2 separate regions of the Homo sapiens genome follow, and region 2 is linked to region 1. Evidence: promoter capture Hi-C in 16 types of primary human blood cells and fetal thymus (Javierre and others, 2016). All regions are on one chromosome and are shown on one strand. The core of a region is centred on a gene start or on the middle of the fragment in contact, and the rest is flanking DNA. Distances in the headings are between cores, read along the strand shown. Region 1 holds the start of TDRD1 (tudor domain containing 1). Region 2 overlaps NHLRC2 (NHL repeat containing 2).

Region 1 (3,706 bases), core at 134-2,633:
TTACAGGCGCCTGCCACCACACCCAGCTAATTTTTTTTTATTTTTTTATTTTAAGTAGAGACGGGGTTTCACCATGTTGGCCAGGCTGGTCTCGAACTCCAGACCTCAAGTGATCTGCCTGCCTCGGCCTCCCAAAGTGCTGGGATTACAGGCATGAGCCCCCACGCCCAGTCAGCACTTTCATTTCACTATTCTGTAAATCTGAAACTGCTCTAAAAAATAAATTTAAAAGACACATCAACTAAAGAAAAAAAATCAGGCTTTTAAAGAATTGAAGTTAGTGAAGTTAGTTTTATTCAGAGTCTTACTGAGGACTGCAACCAGGGAGAGCCCAGAGAATTTCTGTTAAACTACTCCAAAGCAGTGGGTCAGCACACTTTAAATATTAGGTGGTAGAGGTTCTGCCCAGGGGTTACATTAAAAGTGCCCAGAAGCTATATAAGATCAAAATATTTTCAAAGTTTGGGTGCGAGAGTAAGTCTAGGCATCATCATTAATCTTGTCCGTTAGGTACAGAAAAAGGCAAGGCCTAGATCTCTGAAAGTATCTTTTCTAAAAATGCAGTGACTCTGAGAGGTGGGAACCTGAGTTCTCTCCGCAGTCTTCAAGGCATTCTTCTGGAGGGCTGAGATGTTACTAAGTCAAGGGGTCTGAAATGCTGACAAACACAGTGAACAAACGTGGCTTTTTCACAGTGAGGGAGGACTATGCTGGGGGCCAGAAGCAGACGTTCGCTACTTTGTCTCACATTTACAATTCTCGGATTTGCTTCAAAACATTGCCCGAAGAGTGCCTGGGCTGCAGATGTAGACAAGATTAACCATGAATTGATAAGGTAGAAACTAGATGATAGGCACACAAGGGTTCCCTTATGAAATTGTTAGAAAAGTTCCATAGCAAAAAAAAAAAAAAACAAAACTTAAAAAGCTTGTCTTTAAGTAACACCAACAGGTATAATCACATGCCCTCAGTCAGGAAGCAAAGAAAAAAAGTATGAGCACGTGTGTGTTTACTTTCCAAGACCAGGCAGAGGCTGTTGATTATTTGGAAAACCTTGGAAGACCTTTAAGTGGCCACGGTGACCCAAGTGACCTTCGAGGAGACAAAGTCTGCATCTTTGCGCCCAAATTTGCCAAAGGCGTTGCCAGAGACATCTTTCTAGAAGAAGCTAGAACAAAATAAAAGTTTCTGCAAAGGAACTTTTTGAGCCTGTAACTAGAGCACAAGCTGCTTCCGGGGAAGGCGGAGGGAACACGTGGGCACATTGAGTTGCACGTGGACGCGGAGTGCGCAGGCGTGCGCTGAGGCCAGGAGGGCGCACTGGGGATTGGAGGCGAGGGAAGTGCAGGGCGCATCCCAGGCGGCAGGGCTCCCAGCATCGGCAGTCGCCATCACCGCCAGACCGCAGAGACAGGTTCGGATCCGCGGTCCTCTTGCCTCTTTCCAGGTCAGGGTTCCCAGGCGTATAGGGGAGGGAGAGGGCCTGCATGAAGGGGAAGGGAGGGGGCTTCGGTCGTTGGGGGCCAGACGTTGGGCGCTGGACGTTGAGGTTGGGCGTTGAGCGGGTACAAGGGGCCTGGAAGTGGAGAGAGGAGACTTGGAACCTTGCTGCGAGGGTTTGGTGTGGGAGGATTCTCTGAGTTTGGAAATAGCGCTTCCAGGCATCACTCCTTCAAATGCAAACGTTCACCTTCTCTCTAAGAGAAACTTGCATGTGGATTCAGTGCCTTCGTTTGACTAAAAATTACGATACAAACAATATTAACATTTACTAGACTTTTTTTTCCCTACTTTCCTCCTATAGGAAAGGAAGATGTGCTAGGGCATTTACTTAGATGTGGGTCAGCTGGCGCTAGTTTGTTTAAGGAGTTCCTGCTGTGTGCCAGTAGCTTTTCCGGGCCCTAGGGTCCTTGCTATAAATACGTTAGCCCTGCTGGGCTTCTGAACTAAGGGAGCTAAATGCTTCCAGCTTCCTTAGTGAGGCAGCACGGTGCTGTATGCTTAAATCCAAGGCCGTGGAGTCTGACCTGCGTTTTTATCTAAACTGTGTAAGGTGCTGGCCCTGGGTGGTTTGGTAAGTTATTCCAACTTCCCACGTCTCCCTTGTTTATCTGTAGGAATAACGAAATAAAAATACTTTAGTCCTCAAATTATTTTCATCTTAAGCCTGCAAGCTGGTTCCACAGGAATGGAAGAAATTTTGTGCTTGTAGGAGTGGTATAAAAGTAAAGCAGAAATAATAGCTGCCCTTTAAGCCCTTAGGAAGTACTAGCCACTGTGCTAAGTGATTTACTTCGTCTCTCATTTAATTCTCGTGATTAGGATTTGTGAGGAAGTTAACTACTGCCCTCTGCATTTTACAGTCGCTGAATCCTAGAAAGATGAAGTGATTTGCCCAAGATAGCGTGGCTAAATGAGGAAGACGAGACTTACCTGGCTGACTTAAGAGCTCATGCTTTACCGAAGCGTTGCGTTTTGTCTGTTTAAAACCGGAGTGTTTTTGTTTGTTCTTTGAGTAAGAGTTTCACTCTTGTTGCCCAGGCTGGAGTGCAATGGCGCGATCCCAGCTCACTGCAACCTCCGCCTCCCGGGTTCAAGCGATTCTCCAGCCTCAGCCTTCCTAGTAGCTGGGATTACAGGCCAGCCACCGGCGCCCTGCTAATTTTTGTATTTTTAGTAGAGACAGGGTTTCACCATGTTGGCCAGGCTGGTCTCCAACTCCTCACCTCAGGTGATCCGCCCACCTCGGCCTCCAAAGTGCTGGGATTACAGGCGTGAGCCACAGCGCCCAGCCAAAACCGGAGTGTTTTCTTTGAGTAGAATGGTTCTTGCAGAATACATGGGGTTGCCAGGAAGACAAAAGCAAACATCAGAGAAGGAAAAAAATGACAGCTGAGTATCTGTGCATACACTTTTGTTGTTAAAAGAACTCCAGCCTGTGGTATCCTAGAGGGAGAAGAAATGACTTACCCCACTATTCATAGTGTATCTTAGGAAGCCCCCAGCAACATCAGGGAGAACCGATAGGATTCCAAAGAAAAGAGAGGGTCTACCCTTAGGGAGCTTCAGGACTTAATGGGTTCAAAGCGTGAAGTACAGAACAAAGAAATCCAGAAAGCTGAGCCCTCATTTTTGCCTGTAGAACTATAGAAATGAGTCACTTTCAGTCCACTACTCTTCTAGTACATCAGTGATTCCTAATTCTGAGAAAATGAGGTACTCTTTAACGTAGAGAAATGTTGAGACCCTTCTAGTTAACCTTTTATGTTAGCTGAATCAACATTTAATTACTGTGGATTCCAGAATGATTAAATATATTTCTATTTATCACTAGTAGCATGAAAAAATAGTAGATTGTATATAGGGGGAATTATTTTAAAACTGGGTGAGGTTAGCCGATGTGGCTTCAGGGCCTGTGCAGCAATAATCTGTCACATTTGTTTACCTGGGTATCAAGTCTAAAGCCTGAGGTTGGGAATCACAGTATTATGCCATAGGGCCTGCCTACTTGTGATTCAGATATTCCCAGTGGTTGATACAGGATGAACCAAGTAGGAATAGATGCTAAGTCTTACTGGTGTTTTGTAATGTTAAAAATTCACGGCCCAGTGCGGTGGCTCACACCTGTAATTCCAGCGCTTCGGGAGGCTGAGGCGGGCGGATCACCTGAGGTTAGGAGTTTGAGACCAGTCTGGTGAAACCCCGT
Region 2 (3,292 bases), core at 702-3,201, 320 kb before region 1:
CAAAACTGTCAACCAAGAATTCTATGACTGGCAAACTGTCCTTCAAAGTGAGAGAGAAAGTAAGACATTTCCAGATAAATAAAAGCTAAGGGAGTTCATTAATAGACCTGTCCTGAAAGAAATGCTAAAGGAGTCCTTCAGGTTGAAATGAAAGGACACTAGACAATAATTCAAAGCCAGTGAAGAAATAAAGATCTCAGTAAAAGTAAATAATAGGCAAGTATAAAAACTAGTGTTACTGTAACATTGGTATTTAACTCCACTTTTTGTTTTCTACATGATTTAAGAGACTACTATATTTTTAAAATTATTCTAAAAGCTAATGTTATTGTAACATCACATTTTGTTTTCTATGTATTTTTTTTTTGAGACAGAGTCTTGCTCTATTCCCCAGGCTAGAGTGTAGTGGCGCATCTCGGCCTACTGCAACCTCTGCCTCCCAGGCTCAAGCAATTGTCCTGCCTCAGCCTCCCAAGTAGCTGGGATTACAGGTGCCTGCGACCACGCCCAGCTACTTTTTGTATTTTTTTTAGTAGAGACAGGTTTTACTATGTTGGCCAGGCTAGTCTTGAACTCCTGACCTCACATGATTCGCCCATCTCAGCCTCTCAAACTGCTGTATGGGATTAACGCCATGAGCCACCGAGCCCGGCCTATTTTCTATGTAATTTAAGAAACTAATGCATTAAAGTAATTATTAGTTTATATATTTGGAGATATAATGTACAAAGATGTAATTTGGGGCCATCAACAACTGAAAGGGATGGGATGGAGGTGTTAAAGGAGCAGAGTTTTTGTGTGTTATTGAAGCTGGCATAAATTCAAATTAGAGCGTAATAACTTTAAGATGTTAAATGTAATTCCTCTGGTTACCACAAAAAAAAAGAAAGAAAGAATATACACAAAATGAAATAAGAAAAGAATTTAAATGTTTCACTACAAAATAAAAATCAACTAAACAAAAAAAAAAACAGTAATGTAGAAAATGAGGGACAAAAAAGCTCTAAGGCATGTAGAAAACAAATAGCCAAATGACAGATAAGTCCCTCTTTGTCAATAATTACTTTAAATGTAAATGGATTAAGTCTTCTAATTGAAAGGCAGAAATTGGCAGAATGAATAAATAACATATTCCAACTATATGTTGTCTTCAAGAGACTCACTTTAGATCCAAAGATACAAACAGGTTAAAATTGAAAGGATGGAAAAGGATATTGTATGCAAATTGTAACTAAAAGAGAGCTGGGATGGCTATGCTAGTATCAGACAAAATGGACTTTAGATCTAAAAAGGTTACAAGAGACAAAGAAGGACATTATATACTAATAAAAAGCCCAAGCTGAGCACAGATTTCACCTGTAATCCCAGCTACTCAGGAGGCTGAGGCAGGAAGATCACTTGAGGCCAGGAGTTGGAGACCAGCCTGAGTAACATAGCAAGACCTCATTTATTAAAAAATAAATTAATACATAGATGATATGATTATAATGATAAAATGATTATAAACAGGCACTTAATAACAGACAAAATATATGAACAAAAATTGACAGAATTGAGGGGAGAAATAGACAATTCTACAATAGTAGTTGGAGAATTATACCCAATATATACAGGACACTCTCCCCAACAAGATAACACTACCCAACAACAACAGGATTGCGTATGGGACATTTTCCAGGATAGACCATTAGTTATGCCACAAGTTAATTTCAATAGATTTTTTTTAAAGATAAATATTAAAGTATCTTTTCTGATCACAGATGAAGTTAGAAAACAATAACCAAAGGAAAATTGGAAAATTCACAAATTTGTGGAAATCAAACAGCACACTCTTAAATAACCAGTGGACCAAAGAAGAAAACACATAGGTAATTATTAGAAAATACTTAGAGACGAATGAAAACACAATGTAACAAAACTTATGGCACATGGTGAAAACAGGGCTAAGGAAGAAATTTATGGTTATAAATGCTTATATTAAAAAACAAGAAATAACTTAAATCTAAGGTGTAATATCTTAGAATTTTACACCTTAAGAATCTAGAAAAAGAAAAACACAGTAAACCCAAAGCTAACCGAAGGAAGGAAATAAAGATTCAAGCAGGGAGAAACAAAATAGATAATAGAAAAGATCAATTTGGGTACAACCAACCAAAAGTTGGTTCTCTAAAAGTACCAGAAAAATTCCTAGACCTTTAGCTAGCTAGACTAAGAAAAAAGAAGACTCAAATTATTAAAATCAGGAATGAAAATGGGAACATTACTACTGATTCTACAGAAATAAAAAGGATTATAAGAGTACTATGAGCAATTGTACATTAACAAATTGGATAACCTAGATGAAGTAGACAAATTTCTGAAAACAAAACCTACTAAGACTAAACTATGAAGAAATAGAAAACCTGAATAGACCTATATCTGGTAGCATTATTCTCAATAGCCAAGATTTAGAAACAACCTAAGTGTCCATTGATGGATCGTGGGTGAGGAAAATGTGGTGTGTGCATACAGTGGAATGTTATTCAACCTTGGAAGGAAATTCTAACATGGATGAACTTTGAGGACATTATGTTAGGTGAAAAAAAATTCACAATTTATGCCACTTACAAAAATTCAAATACTACATAATTTCACTTACACAGGGTACTTAGAGTAATCTGAATCATAGAGACAGAAAGTAAAATGGTGGTTGCTAGTGACTAGCAAGAGGGGAGAATGTGGAGCTATTGTTTAATGGGTACATTTTCAGTTTTGCGAGATGAAATGAGTTCCGGAGATGGAGGATGGCAATGGTCGCACAGCAATAGGAATGTCCTAAATACCTTGAACTGTACACTTAACAAACGGTTAAAATAGTAAATCTTATGGAAGAAACTATAAGAACACAAAAATGAGCCAGGCGTGGTGTCTCACGCCTATAATCCCAGCACTTTGGGAGGCCAAGGCAGGCGGATCATGAGGTCAAGAGATGGAGACCATCCTGGCCAACATGGTGAAACCCTGTCTCTACTAGAAATACAAAAATTGCTGGGTGTGGTGGCGCGCCCCTGTAATCCCAACTACTAGGGAGGCTGAGGCAAGAGAATCGCTTGAACCCACGAGGCAGAGATTGCAGTGAGCTGAGATTGCGCCACTGAACTCTAGCCTTTCGACAGAGCAAGACTCCGTCTAAAAAAAAAAAAAAACCACACACACACACAAAAATGGGTTTTTAACAACTATTTTAAAAATGAACCTTACAAGGTCAGAATTGTGCACCACTGGGAGGGTTACACTCAGTGGTTTGTTGGAG

What was found. The method cuts DNA at HindIII sites, captures the fragments that hold promoters and counts their contacts. A CHiCAGO score of 5 or more calls a contact.
Region 2: a contact is called between a fragment that was not itself captured here and the fragment with the promoter of TDRD1 in region 1, in 1 of 17 cell types (neutrophils). The highest score is 6.4, in neutrophils.

The regions. Positions count from the first base shown.
Region 1 is chr10:114,177,970-114,181,675 of GRCh38, forward strand. It overlaps TDRD1 (tudor domain containing 1), which reads left to right and starts at 1,384. Exons shown (of 25, transcript NM_001395205.1): 1 at 1,384-1,447. The HindIII fragment of the contact is 8,256 bases long and covers 926-3,706 here.
Region 2 is chr10:113,861,525-113,864,816 of GRCh38, forward strand. The region is part of intron 2 of NHLRC2 (NHL repeat containing 2); the gene reads left to right. LOC124902506 (a long non-coding RNA gene) reads left to right here. Exons shown (of 2, transcript XR_007062295.1): 2 at 1,761-2,116. Among named protein-coding and RNA genes, the nearest start is that of NHLRC2, 8.5 kb to the left of the region's middle. The HindIII fragment of the contact is 7,063 bases long and covers 1-3,292 here.